Linked DNA regions of Homo sapiens: region 2 is linked to region 1. Evidence: promoter capture Hi-C in human tissues and cell types (Jung and others, 2019). All regions are on one chromosome and are shown on one strand. Each heading gives the region's core, a stretch centred on a gene start or on the middle of the fragment in contact. The rest is flanking DNA. Distances are from core to core; before and after follow the strand shown. Region 1 holds the start of F13B (coagulation factor XIII B chain). Region 2 overlaps ASPM (assembly factor for spindle microtubules).

Region 1 (7,658 bases), core at 3,851-6,350:
ATTTCTACCCCTACCACATCTACTTCTAGATAGGTTTACTAGATATATCAACCACAATAGCCATATTCAACATCCTCTTTTAAACGAAACTGGCTCAACCAAAGCCCCTTACTCTGGGTCACCTGCCCTAGTGGAAGATCATTGATAGTTTGATGATAGTGTAGCCTGATATAAAATAATGAAATGAGTCAATTAGATTACCTTCTCACAACTTTGAACTCAAACTTTCAATTCAAAATTGAAAAACACATTTTTCAATGGGTATCATGAGAGAAGTTGGCACATGAAGAGAGATGAGTCTTACAAATGATAAAGCATTAGAGTAGCAATCTTGCCCTTCCAGAGGCCAGAGTTTCAAGCATTTTTCTGGCATCTTATGCTTAATTATCAAAATAAGTTTCTTGTTACTTAAAGTAAATTACCTCTCTTTGCCTTGCAATATGATAATTTCAGTTATTACCCTATTCCCTTCAACAGAGTATTATTAAAAACAGATACAGAAAATAACATTTTAATGTAAAAGCATTATTTACTGGATTTCAAATTATGCCTTCATTTTGTAGAAAGACAGATTGCTAGTGATTTTGTTCTTATCTACTAAAAGGTTTAACCGCTTTCCATTTTTATTGGACCCCTATTTTTATATACAAATTTCTTTGAGTATTGAAACATTGAGTGACATATCCAGCTGACTTACTGAAGCACCTTGGCTCTGGAGACCAGCCTTCTGTTGTACACGTGGTTTGCTCTTCTTGTCTTCCACTTTCAGTGGTATAACCAGCCAAGCAGAAAAATGACAATTTTTTGTCTATGCTCATTGGAAAGTAAAAGCTTTTAAAAGTATAGTAATATTGGGCAATTCTTCCATTTTCCACATGAGGAAAACCACAGGGTTTCTCTGAAATGAGTAAATGTCAAGCTGAAAATGGAAAAACAAATCTAAAAACATAAATTTGTAATCAGGTGACAATACAAACTAAAAGTTTTTAGAGACACTTCAACTAGTACTTATTTTTCTTACTTAAATTTTTAAGGTACTTTTGTGACAACTCAAGCAGTCCTTTTATCATAATTGATCTGCAAATGACTTTAAACATCCAACAGTCATGATAAAATTTAGCAGACCACTTTTTCAGGGAAGCTTTGCATAACTTCGTAGAACAGTACTTTTTTTTTTCTTCCTAGACACAGAGTCTTCCTCAGTTATCCAAGCTTCAGTGCAGTGCTGAAATATAGCTCACTGCCACCAGGAGCTCCTGGGCTTAAGCAAGCCTCCTCTCCTGTAGCTAGGACTGCAGGCACATGCCACCACATCTGGCTAATTTTTGTTTTATTTTTTGTAGAGATGAGGGGTCTCACTCTGTTGCTCACGCTGGTCTCAAACTCCTGGACTCAAAGGATCCTTCTGCTTTGGCCTCCCAAAGCACTAGGATTACAAGACTTGAACCACTCCACCCTGCCTGCACTTCCTAATAGATATGTATTGTAAGTCACTTATGTAATTTAAAAATTTCTAATAGTCACATTCATAAAAATACTAAGGAACAATTGAAGTTAGTTTTAATAATAGGTTTTTATTTAACCCAATATATTGAAAATATTTTACATTCTTTTTTTTTCTAACTCTTTAAAATCCACTACATATTTATACTTACAGAATATCTGATCTTGAACTAGTGACATTTTAAGTACTGTCTCCAATAGCTATATGTGGCTGATGGCCACTGTATTGGACAGTACAGTTCAGGAATAGGTAAAGTTTCTCCTTAACATATGCTAACTCATAAAAAATTTTGAAATAAATAGCATTAAAAGAAAAAACAGACAACCAAGTAAAACAAAGCAATACTTGGCAAGAACTTGGCAAAATAGGATATTTAAATGGTTAGAGACCTGGTACTTAGCATTACTAGTCATCAGGGAAATGAAAATTTAAACCACCATGAGATACTACTGCATATCCAATAGAACTGCTGAAATGAAAAAGACAAGCTATCTCAATGATTGTGAAGAAGTGAAGAAACTGGAACTCGCATATTTCTACAACTGAAAGTATAAATCAGTCCAAACTCTATGAGAGAACACCTTTGCAATATATATTGGGGTAAAACATGTACAAACCATATTACCCAATAAAAAAAGCACATATTTGTATACCAAAAGACATGGAAAAAAATGCTTATAGTGGCAGTATTCATATAGTCCCAAACTGGGAACAATCTAAATGCCCATAAATAATAGAAAAGATAAACACATTTTAGACTATGCATACAATGGAATATTATCCAACAACAGAAATGAACAAATGGTGAATCTCATAAACATAATATTGAGTGAAAGAAGCCAATCACATATGAATTAATGTATACATTTGCATAACTTTTTAAAAGAAAACAAACTAATCCATGATAATAGAAGTCAGAATGGTTACCTTTGGGGTTTAGTGCCTTAGAAGGATCATATTTCTGGGGTACTATCACTGTTCTATATCTTGATCTGGATGGTGTAAAATTTTGTAAAAACTATATAAGTGTATCCTGTGATTTTTGCATTTTTCTGGATATGTTATACTCCAAATAAAACATATATTTTAAAAATATATCTTTATGTTGAAGATCTTAAAGTCATAAAAACACTTAAAAGAAAGAAATGCTCGAACAATCCTAGGAGCTGTGGTGGGAAGAAACATGGGCAGTCATGGATGGAAGAAGGCCTAGATCCAGTGTGATTACTACGGCTTCAATGCCTTGGTTGATCACTGTATACCTTAATGCTACTATGAGACATAAAATACTAGTAGTGCTAGCCTAGGTTTGAAGGAAATGGATGTGGAATGATGAGCAACAAAACTTCCACTATCTGATGGAGCAGACAGAAAAACATGGGCTGGATAGTCCCCATTCCTTGAGAATTATTCTCACCATTTTTTCACACCCAAGCACCAAAGGAATTTACAATAAAAAGAGTCTTCCAAAATAGCAGTGCAATGGTGAATACACAAGAAATTTCCCTGAGGGGCACAGTTGCTTGTCAGGGAGGGGCAGCAAAGTATTCTCTGCACAACAATCCTAGGTTGTGGCTTTAAAGACTCTCTGTCCTGGGACATCTCCCTCCACCACCAGGATAGGCACATTATTTGTTAAGGTAGCTGGAATGCCTTGGAGAATATGAATTCCTGACAAAAAATTAATGAGAAATGTGAGGAATATACTAATCACATATAAACCAGGAAATCACAGATGTCTGAACATATTAAAAAAAGTACATGAAGCGATGGACACACTTACTACTGATCAGAGAATGGTAAATAAATAAAAATGGGATATCACTTTATGAATAACCATATAGCAACCAGTACAAAAATGGACAATATGAGGTGTTGGTGAGAATGATGAGGAGCAACAATTTACATCCTCTCTCAGAGATGATATACTTCAAAACTGCCATTCTGCAAAAGTAATCTCTCATTACAGAAATCAAGTACAAGAATAGACTCAATAATGCTATCTGTGAGTGAATACAGACTGATGACATTCTTACAGAAAGATAAGTTGGTTATATTACAATATTCATTCCAGAGCTATTTGTGGTTGAGAGAGCTAGAGTAACATGTTAAAACATTGTAGTAGGTCCCAGGGGAAATGGACTTCAAGATTAGGAATAAGGGGATAAAATGTGTAAGTAAAGCAAGAGTGAGACCTTTCATAGGCCAATAATACTTGCATACCATGAAATGAGAAACACAATTAATTCAATTCTTGTCCCTGAAGTGCACAATGGGAGTTGAGAGAAGCATGCAAAAATAAAATCATTGTCTTGGTCTTCAAGCAGCTTACTTTTTTTTTTGTTGTGTAAAATAGCATTATAACCTTATAATAATTAGAAAATTAACTAGAATATTGCAATGTCTTTATGGTATAGATAACAGACAATTATATCTGCTGGTATTTCCCTATTTAGACAGAAAAATAAAATCAAAAGAAATTCATGCAAAAATCATCCTATTATAGAATTAAAAGTATAAAATAAGATTAATTCTGTGTCTTTCACTTTTATAATTTTAATTATAGATGTTTTGGTAGAAAATTTATAGTTAACTATTCAACTAAAACACAGTTAAAACTTATGTATTTAATTTCAACAAATTCCCAAAAATGTTTATTTTAGAAAAGCTGTATTGCTGTAGCTTCCTTCTTTGTATGTTCACTCTTGCTAATGCTAAGTGTCCTCCCTGGATTCTTCATCCTATGGCCTGATAATATTGATAATGTTCCTGAACAACATACCCATGTACACTGCCTAGCTTCCACTCGCACACTAATCTTACACATTGGGCAATCTGACTATAAAGCTTTCTAATAGGGAGTCCATAGGTATTGGTTTGTTTGGAAAGTCCTGATTTACATGTGTTGTCCAAACAGTTATTAATAGAGCCCCTCTTTTACTCTCTAAGTGTCCCTGTTTGTACAAGCAATTATATGGTTCACCTACTAATCACTACTTAATGTCTCCAACAAATGAATAATTCATTGTGATAAAAATCAAAGTCTCAAAAGTAAAAAATATTTATGGCTATTTCCTTTTCAAATTTCCCACATTAAACTCTCACCTTATGAACAGAATTAAAATTGTACAAGTTTTGTCAGTATTAGGAATGGATTCTAGCATAAATTTAGAATTAAAGTTAACATGTGACTTCGAAATGGACATATTGTTAACCTGAAAACCTTTTCGAAGTATTTAGATCCTGGTCTCCTATGCCCCCTAGAGATACAAGGGTTTTTGTTTTGTTTTGCTTTTCTGACTTATGCTACTGTAAGAACACTTTACTAATTTTGCTCAAAGGAAAAGGTCTAAATATTATAAAAAGTTATATTTATAAAATATGTTATAAAATTGATAATGAAAATAGAAGAGTATATTAAAACTTGAGTTGTATAAATATTAGAATCTCCATTTGTATGTTTTAGAGAATAAAGAATATTAAGAATTAATTTTACCTTCTGCATAGAGTTCTCCTGAGATTATCAATATGATGATAAAAGTCAGGTTTTTCAACCTCATCTTCAGTGGTGTGCTTCACAAAGATTTTAACAATTCTAAGCACTAGGAACTTGTCATTAAGTACACAATACTTCTCTTGAGGAAAAAGTTAATAATTTATAACCTCTGTCTAAGTCCTTTTGTAACGAGTCTTATATTTCACTTAAAATATTTTGAAATAATGTTAAAATAACACAACTATATTAATTGACATTACTTACCATGTCAGAGTCCAGTAAGAGCATGATAACTGATTAGGGCAACAATAGCAGCAGAATAAATAATAAATTATAGCAGCAGAATAAATAATACTAGGTAAATTTTCAACCTAAGTTCCCAATTGTAAATTCATAGAGTAAAGTTCACTTGAGGCCATAGATCTTTACTAATATTGATCAGGTAAAAAGATGAACTTAGGAACATGAGATAACAGATACCTGATGTTGAAATATGTTGTTGCCTAGACTGCACTCCTTAAAGAGATACAGAACCATAGTTGTCTCAATGATAGAATAGTATTACTTATAATAGTAGTGTTTGACATTTAGAGAGTTTTTACTTTGTGGCAGGTGGTGAGATCAGCACTGTGCTATATCAACATTCATTCATGAGAAATGTTTAGAACGTCCATGATAATGGCAGCACATGTAACAGTTTTGAGGTATTTAGCAGTGAAAAAACTGGATTAAAATTATTGCCCTCATGGAGTTTACATTCTAATGAGTTTTAATTTAAAATACAAAATAGGAAAAAATGGTGGATAGGAGGCAGGACTAACTTGCAGCTCCCACTTGGATGGACAGAGCAGGATGTGGAGACTCGCATTGTGAACTTTTGCTCCAAGAACTGCTGCAAGGATATAACAGGAAAGCCAAGATAATCCACAGACCCTCTGAAGAAAGTATATTGCTCCTGCATGACCCAGAAAATAGCCCACATACTGTGAATGCCCAAACTGTGAAAAGTGTGAAAGGGGTATTGTCCACCCCTGAACACACACCCTTGGGGAACCTGAAGGTCTAGATCACAGGAGAAGGATTTGACCTTACCTGGAGCTCAGACAATTTAGAGAGCTGAGCGAAATACAGGGGTAGAGGAAGCAAAGGGTAAAGCCCCATCGTCTCTGTGGGTCCCCAGAGAAGCCATTTCTGACTTGTCTCACAGGGGCTGCCGGAGGAACTGGGAAAAGACCACAGGGAGAAGGAAACCTCCAGCTGAACTTAGTAACAATTCCAACCGAACACAAACTTTCCTGTCCAGAACTCAGGAAAGGGCGTGAATCTGGTGTGCAGACTTAACAGGTAGGGAGGCACAAAAGTCTGGCTTGCATTCTCAGCTGGGAGGCTAGTAGCCTGGGGCAAGTTCTCAATCCTGCTCCCCTACTGCCTGGAAACAAATTCGGTGCTTTTTGGGGGAACACAGTAGAAGTGAGATTTGCTTGTTGGGTTGTGTGAGAGCTGGGTGAGGTCTGTAACTGCCAGCTTTCCCCCACTTCCCTGACAACCTGCATGACACAGAAGAGGCAGCCATAATCCTCCTGGGAAGGTAACTCCATTAACCTGGGAATCACACCCCCATTCCCCACAGAGCCACAACAAGCCCCACCCAAGAAGACTCTGAGCTCAGACATGCCTAACCCTGCCCCCACCTGATGGTCCTTCCCTACCCACCCTGGTAGCTGAAGACAAAGGTCATATTCTCTTGGAAGTTCTAGTGTCCCACCCACCACCTGATCCTCCCCTATATACCACAGCTGATGCTCTCATGAAAGCACTACCTCATGGCAGTGTGTCTGGAATTGGTTCCTTCCAATGGGTTCTTGGTCTTGCTGACTTCAAGAATGAAGCTGCGGACGCTTGCGGTGAGCATTACAGTTTTTAAAGATGGTGTGTCCGGAGTTTGTTCCTCTGATGTTCAGATGTGTCCAGAGTTTCTTCCTTCTGGTGGGTTCCTGGTCTTGCTGACTTCAGGAGTGAAGCCGCAGACCTTCACAGTGAGTGTTACAGCTCTAAAAGATGGTGCGTCCGGAGTTGTTTCTTCCTCCTGGTGGGTTCGAGGTCTTGCTGACTTCAGGAGTGAAGCCACAGACCTTCGCGGTGAGTGTTACAGCTCATAAAGGTAGTGCAGACCCAAAAAGAGAGCAGCAGCAAGATTTATTGCAAAGAGCGAAAGAACAAAGTTTCCACAGCCTGGAAGGGGACCAGACCAGGTTGCTGCGGCTGGCTCGGGTGGCCAGCTTTTATTCCCTTATTTGGCTCCGCCCACATCCCGCTGATTGGCACATTTTACAGAGTGCTGGTTGGTCTGTTTTTACAAAGTGCTGATTGGTGCATTTACAAACCTTTAGCTAGACACAGAGCGCTGATTGGTGTGTTTACAATCCTTTAGCTAGACAGAAAAGTTCTCCAAGTCCCCATTCGACCCAGGAAGTCCAGCTGGCTTCACCTCTCAGCAGGAGGCCAACCAGCACCAAACTAGTGCATCAAACAACTACAACTAAGGACCCTCACAGAGTTCCTTTCACTCCCCTGCCACCTCTACTGGAACAGGTGCTGGTATCCATGACTGAGAGAACTGAAGACAGTTTACATCACAGGACTCTATGCAGACAACCC
Region 2 (7,658 bases), core at 4,410-6,909, 55 kb after region 1:
CGTAAAACACTCAATAGCTGCAAAGCACAATAATGCAAAGAGCAATAAAACGAGGTATGCCTATATGCCTTAAGAACAATTGTACTCCTAGTACAATTGAAGAGACTGAATACATTTCACACCAAAAGACATGTTCATAATACCTTTAATCATAATAGCTCAAAACTGGAAAGCCAAATGTTCATCAAAAATAGAACAGATTAAGTATAGTGCAGAATACGAAATAAAAAAATTAAACCACGGCTATACTCAACGCTGATAAATCTCAAAAAATGTAATAATATCAAATCAAAGAATTCATATGGTTTGAACTCACCTGTAACAATTCAAAAAGTAAGCGAAACTAAATTATTGTGTTTAAAGAAAACACTTAGGAAAATGGCATGATTAGCATAATGGTTAGCTTGAGCTGGGATGGGAGAGTTAATTGAAAAATGCCTTTTGCTACACTGGCAATATTCTATTTCTTGGCCTAGGTGGTTTTACATTGGCATTTATTTTGTGAAAAATCATTAGGCTCTATATTTTTATTTTGGGTAATTTTCTATGTGTAATATTTTACATGTTAAAAAAAGGTTAAAAAAGACAATTATTTAAGTCAGAGAACCCTCATTTATCAATAATGGTAGCCAGACACAAAAACTTTCAAATTCATAAATCAGATATATTGATGGGGTGAAGCTTCAATGGCATTTATAAATAGTAAATTTAAATAATGCACATCTCTCATGTCATTAAAATATAATTTAATATAAAAAAACTAATTTACATAGATGTAAAGACTATATTAAGTCAGTATTATATATTTTTTCCTAAAAAGAAAAATAATATAGGTATTCTATAGACTAATTATAAGTACTATTTCCTTTACATGCCAACTAAGTGGAGTAGAGAGAAAAATGTGTACAGTTGTCCCAAAGAGAAGTTTCCAGGACTCAAAGCAAAGATAAAAAAGAACCTGGTTGGTTATGTGGATCTACAAAGTAGAATGGTTCAGTAGGCCAGCATGTCCCACAGCGTAGAAGACGCAACAAAGAAGAGAGCAACAGGTACAGAATTAGAATGTTTGCTTTTTCAGAGCAAATGCATTTCAATTATGTTTCAGCCTTCTGCTGAACACCATAACGAGCTTTTCAGGTAGTAAATATTTGTTAAATTAAGTATTAGATAAAGAATCCTAAAATATAATCATTGAAAACTTCATCACATTTTGCCTTCTTACTTAAAAAAGTCATTAAAATTTTTTAAATTCAAAAATTAGTCCAGGATACTATACCTGAATAAGTGATGCTGCTTTATTTTGAACTTTTTCCAGCTTTTCCTTTTTTAACATTAATAATTTTCTCTGTGCTAAGACTCTTCGCCAATATTTCTGAATGACGAGTGCTGCATTAACTCTTTTTCTCAATCTTTGTTTTGCTAGAAAATTGATTACAGCCAATTGAATAATTCTTGCAGCTTTCTCTCTCTCCTAAAATAAAAAAGTCAGCAAATGTAAATTAAACACTCACTTAAGACCTTAAATTATTCTTTGTAAGATAACCATATGTTAAACACCAATCAAATTGATACTGGAAATAAAACACCCCTACACTTCTTGTGTTCATCTTTGGAATACTGATAATTCCAGGCATGTCGAAAGCGCTGATAGGTGGGCTTGCAGATATTTTGTATGATGAAACAAAGATTCCTAAGAAATAGTCTAAGATAAAGATTAGACATGTTTGATCTATCACAGATCCTCAGTAATCAAGATAAAGGCCATTTGAAGTGTAATGTGGTATGTTTCTCAGATTCAGGTCCACTGAATTCATGATTAACTTTTAGGAAAGGGGAGGATTGTATGAAAAAAAGAATGTGTTAGAGAATTGTAACAATTTGAACAAAGCAAAACACTAAAGGGGAGAAACAAAATACCTCCTCCTTTAGCACAGAATACATTGTGGCCTTAGGTCATACAAGCTGAAGAGGAAAAAGTATAGTTTGGGCTATGAGAAGTGGTATCTGAGATGCCCAACATTTGTGGTCAAAGAGGACCCAGCTCCCTAGTTATGTTAGAAGGCAATACCCCCCATATCTCTACTTGTTACTTCTGATAATAAATTGCTGTAAATAATAACATATTCTATGTCCAGCACCATTCTGAACACTTCATGAACAATCCATTTAAATCTCACAACCACCACCATAAGAACAAATGAGCAAATACTACTCTTACGATCACTAGAAAACTGAGGCAATGAGGTCAATTAGCTTGTTAGTTTATTGGTAATATAGCCAGGATACGAATCAGGCAGTTTGGCTTTAAAGTAACTTTGCTATACTGTCCAATACTAGATTTCTCAATTTACTTCACTGGAATTGGAGACTAGAAAATGAACTATTTCCTCTGGTGGGAAGGAATAACTTATGGCAGGGATGTCTGGCAGCTTTTTGTGTTGCTGTCTGGGACCGTCCACCATGCAAGGGTAGGCTCTACACAGAGATTAGCTATAATTCCAATTATTAATTAATAACAATCAGTGGTTGGTATCTGTGCATGAAAATTGTGCAATAGGGGAAACAACTATGGAAATAATCAAACTGTTATTTTTACATATAAAAAAGGTGACCAATAGATTGAAACATAAATACTAAGGAATGGTAAGTGCTATATATTGGATCATTCCTCTGGGGAGAAAGAGTAGACAATTCCAAAATCGGGCTAGGGGAATTATGTATATAACAAGTTGATTAAGTCATCTAACACCATTATCAATGCCCTTGTGAAACCTATGGGCTTTAGGACTGTAGAGGCTCAAGTTAAAAGCACAACCCTGTTACAGTAAATAAATAAATACACAAATAAAATTTTCAAATGTTGCAGTTCAGAAGTATATTGCATTTGAGACAAAAGTTGTAAGGGTCAGGGCATTCATGGACAAAATAGGCTAAAGTAAATTGTAACTTATCTCAGTTTTTAGATCATCTCTATAGAACTAAAATACAACTTTACATGCCATTAGAGAATTTAAAGATGGAAAGTAAATAAATTAGAAGAGGCAAATATATTACCAAATTTAGCAAGTATTTGAAAATTACATATACTGATGATAAAAGTTTCCATGTATGGTCATTGACCCTTTTTAATCAGACTGTTGTTGAGTCAGCCAGGTACCAGCTTATTTCTTTTATCTTGCCTCATATATATAGGGCCAAATTCTAGGACTTCTTTTGCTTTGGAGTTTATGGCTATTTGTTGACAGGAAGAACTGAGAGCTGTAATGTACCAGGGGATGCTTCAATAGTTCATCAGGTAATTTTAGCTACTTGACAAAGTTTCTTTGTCATAATAAAAGTTTGAGCCACTCCATTAATAGATTTATATGAATTATAACATAAAAGCAAAATATAAAACCTGAAAAATAGCTATCTCAAGTTAATATGTTTAGTAGCTTGCAATAACATAGGGAGCCTGCTGCTTAATGTTCTAAATAGAAAACGGAAAGATATAATTGGATGTGAGGTAATTGTATAAAAGAGGGAGTATGGTCACCAAGAAAAAGGAGAGAAACAGTGGTCTGACTGGGTCCAAGAAGTTTAACCATAAGTATAGAAACTTCTCTTAATTCTTCAAAAAAACTTCTCTTAATCCTTCAAAAAAATGGAAACTTCTATTTGCATTAAGGAAATAAATCAAGAAAAGGGATCTCACTAGCAAAAAGCTGAGAAAATTCTACAGTTAATATCAGACTAAGGCTGGGTGCAGTGGCTCATGCATATAATCCCAGCACTGTGGGAGACAGAGTCAGGCAGATCACTTGAGGCAGGAGTTTAAGACCAGCCTAGGCAATGGGGTGAAATCCTGTCTCTACAAAAAATACAAAAATTAGCTGGGTGTGGTGGCATGCACCTATAATCCCAACTACTCAGGAGGCTGAGGCACAAGAATGGCTTGAACCCAAGAGACAAAATCTGAAGTGAGCCAAGATCGTGCTATTGCACTCCTGCCTGGGTGACAGAGTGAGACCTTGTCTCCAAAAGAAAAAAAAAATCTGATTAATACAAGGCTATCTTGAGCAGAAAATAAAAGCAGAATACATATATATCTATCTCTTGTAATTCTAAAACTCTCATTTAATGCAATATACAATGGGTGAATCAAATAGCTTGAGGACTGGCCAGGGGAGACACTTTTCTGAACTCTTCCAATTCCCCTAGAAGTATTGGAAGCTTCTAGGGGAATTGCTTTAGGAAAGTTTTCAGGAAGTTATTCTCCAAGTGATATGTAGGCAGGGAGGCAGATCCTGAGTTTAGGGGCACTATAGGGCACACAGCATATACAGTAGCAGAAAAGACCATTTGTGAGTGTTAAGACCCTGCCTATTTCCCAAACTTTACTATGAAGAGTTTGAGTAGGGGAAAAGAAAATTATTTCAATTAGTCTTATTTCCAAGTCTGGTGTGAAATGAAAAAACACATATTGTGTTTGAAAGTTGTCAAAATTTATCTGTTTTACACAGCTACCAAGAACTTTATCACAGATGCATTATATTTCAAAGTTGAGAAGGAATATTGGGTGGAATGTATTTCTGAAATATTTATGATAAATTTTACCAGGCATGGATGCTTGTTTTATTTTATTTTTTTTGGTTTTCCAAATAAATAAACACAATATTAGTTAGTAGATGGAATAGGGTGACAAAAAGAGTGAAATAGTTTGTTCAACTTGATCAAGGAGGCCGTTTCTTAGATTATTAAAAATAACAATTTTCTCAGAACTTAAGAAAAAAATTTTTTACATTAATGAAATTTTTGTACTATTGGGGTCACAAAGGGAAACAATAAATAACATCTCTATTCTCATGCCCAGATCCTAACATTTTGAAAAATTAATAGCAGAAACCAAAATACCACTTTTAAAACTAATAAAGGATAAAGTAGAAGACAGCTTCATGGCAAACAAACTAAGCTTACTAGTTAAATCACAAAATCAGACACTTGATGCTCAGGCCCAGGCAGCACTAGTTGAGGTCAAGCCTCATACAGCACAGAATAAAAAATTAATGGAAAGCTCCTGCTCTCCAGAGGCAGGTTAGATTCCAACAGGAGGAAAGGAAGAGCTGAGTCAATGTGAGCTATGTATTCCTCACAAATTTAAAAAGCAGATTAAGTTATTCCTCTTCCCCTGGAACAGACTAGGTGAAGGGGTGGACAGACTGGAAGATACATCAAATGAAGGGAATATTAGCAATTAGGGAGAAATACTCATACCTCCCCAACCCAAAATACATATACACAATTACTAAATTTATCTTAATAATGCCATACATCCATAAAATGTAAAATCATATCAAAAATCAATCAACAAATACCTTCTAAAGTATAATTCACACTATAGTAGTTTCATATTCTAGGAGTACCTGATGGCGTTTGAGATCTGTTTTTAGTTTATATTTTCTCCATGTTGTTTGTATGAGTCGAGCAGCTCTTATTTCTTTACGAAGATCCAAAAGCCTTGCACAAAGAAATGACAAATAGGTAATAACCACCTAAAAAAAACCCACAAAAGATAAAAACAGAATATCAACAGAGAATACAGTACTTACTATCATCTTCTGAGACTTTATTATTGAATTAATAATTAGAAACTCTTCTTTTACTTACCTTTTCATCTGGAATTGTATTTGACATATCTGAATGATTAATCATAGCAGGTATTCCACCAAGGTCTCTAACTGCAGACCTAACCAAGTGAAAATTTTTCTTTTCATTTTCTAGGAGCTCTTTGTATAGCTCTGAAGTATTTTCTATTATGCAGGAGGAAAGGAGAAATTAGCCGTAGCTTCAAATCAGACATGGCAAAAAATTGGAAAAGTAACCAAAAGGGACTAACCATGATCAAATGCTTTAAGAGACATATCCAGAGAACTGTCATCAGATTCAGATGATGAATTTAATACCACTGAACCAGTTTGCGTACATTCCACAGTTTGAGTAGTACGCTGACATATAGCGTCAAATGGCACATAGCAAGGATGGTAATGGTGGATCAGGTAACATAACACACGGCCGTCTGAGAAAGACACTGTAAAATTCTCCACCTGATTGAAAATGCCAGAAAAACAATTAACCGCATTTAGAAAGTAGTATAGACATAATGGTTTGCAGAATACCTGTGAATAATAAAGGCAGAGACTGGAGTGACAAATCTACAAGGCAAGTAATGGCAAGTTTGACTGGTAAACTCTAAAATTTAAAAGAAAAAAATAAAAGAGTATCCCCTAGAACTTTATGTGAGAGCATGGCACATCCAACACCTTGATTTCAGACTTCTAACCTCTGGAACTGTGAGAGAATAAATTTCTACTTTAAGCCACCTAGTTTGCTGTAATTTGCTATGGTAGTCTTAGGAAACTACAACAACAAGCAATGAGAGTGGATTCTCGTTATTTGTGAATATTGAACCATTGCATAGAGGAGAAATATAAGGTTAGTGTCCTGTGAGCCTCTGGTTATAATATGTTTATCAACCAATCCGCACATAACCTTGTTCACAGGTGTTTCTGATTCAATAACACTAACTCATGGCCAACAGCATTATAATTCACGCCTGCATTAAAATTAGTTAACGCATATATTTTCTGTATACGGCACATCACAGTCTTCTCCTAAGAACACTAGACAGGGCTTCATTACTACACTTGAAAGCCATTTTAAACAGGGAACTCACCAACAAAAAGCACAAAAATGCAAAAAAGTACAATGCTAAATAGGTCCTGAAAAGGACGCTTGTTTACAGTATAAGAGCTGAAACAAAAAGAGCACCACCTTGTTTGACATCAGCTGGCTATGAGGGCCCAGGCATTCACACACGTCAATAAATGACCACAAAATACTGCAACTACTAATTTTGGCATTAAAAAGAAATTTTAGCTAGTATGCAAATTCCAAATATGGAATTAATTAATACCGATGATCAACTTTGGCTCTCTAGTATTTAGTTAAAACATAGAAGATTATCCATATGTTTAACAATTTTTGTACTAATAACTTCTTGGTATAATCATATTGCAAGGCTTACCATATTTAGCTATACATACTGTGTATCACTGTTTCTGTCTTATATTTATTACCAGATAGTTTATCCACGTGTTTAGGGGAAATTTTTTTCATATATTTACACTAAGAAGTATACTTCATACAGAAATACAGTGTTAACCTAACAAATGATTATAGAGAGACTCAAATTTTGTTCTTCTTCCTCTAACTAGTGGTAAGTTCTTAGTTGTCCCTTTCTGAATGTGGGCTTATTTGAATTGAACTTTATAATAATGATATGATTCTTTTATGTCCCAGTTCTATGCAAGCATCTTCTACTAAGACTTCCATCTAGGGCATATTTTTCTTTTCTTGATAAAATTATCATGTATCACACAATTGGTGATAGATTAGATGAAATACAGTGTATGATAAAACATTCACTCATTTGAGGGAAAGTTTGCTTACACAGATGAACTAAGAAATTCAAGAAAAGACTTCAGGCATTAAGTTTAAGTGACTTTCATCAAAATTTATTAAAATATATTGGGTTAAAACAAAAAACAAAGAAACTTACCTTTTTATTATAGAAGGCACAAACAGCATTTACCCAATCCATCAATAACTTTATGTTTTCA

The links. The method cuts DNA at HindIII sites, captures the fragments that hold promoters and counts their contacts. A contact is called where the count stands out against the background at its distance.
Region 2: a contact is called between a fragment that was not itself captured here and the fragment with the promoter of F13B in region 1, in 2 of the 25 tissues and cell types used here (mesendoderm cells and thymus).

What each region holds. Positions count from the first base shown.
Region 1 is chr1:197,062,160-197,069,817 of GRCh38, forward strand. It overlaps F13B (coagulation factor XIII B chain), which reads right to left and starts at 5,101. Exons shown (of 12, transcript NM_001994.3): 1 at 5,001-5,101; 2 at 698-898. The coding sequence starts at 5,064. RefSeq lists an enhancer at 6,209-7,408. The HindIII fragment of the contact is 20,654 bases long and covers 2,782-7,658 here.
Region 2 is chr1:197,116,513-197,124,170 of GRCh38, forward strand. It overlaps ASPM (assembly factor for spindle microtubules), which reads right to left. Exons shown (of 28, transcript NM_018136.5): 13 at 7,598-7,658; 14 at 5,876-6,083; 15 at 5,647-5,789; 16 at 5,403-5,531; 17 at 1,277-1,471. Among named protein-coding and RNA genes, the nearest start is that of ASPM, 26 kb to the right of the region's middle. The HindIII fragment of the contact is 6,426 bases long and covers 2,447-7,658 here.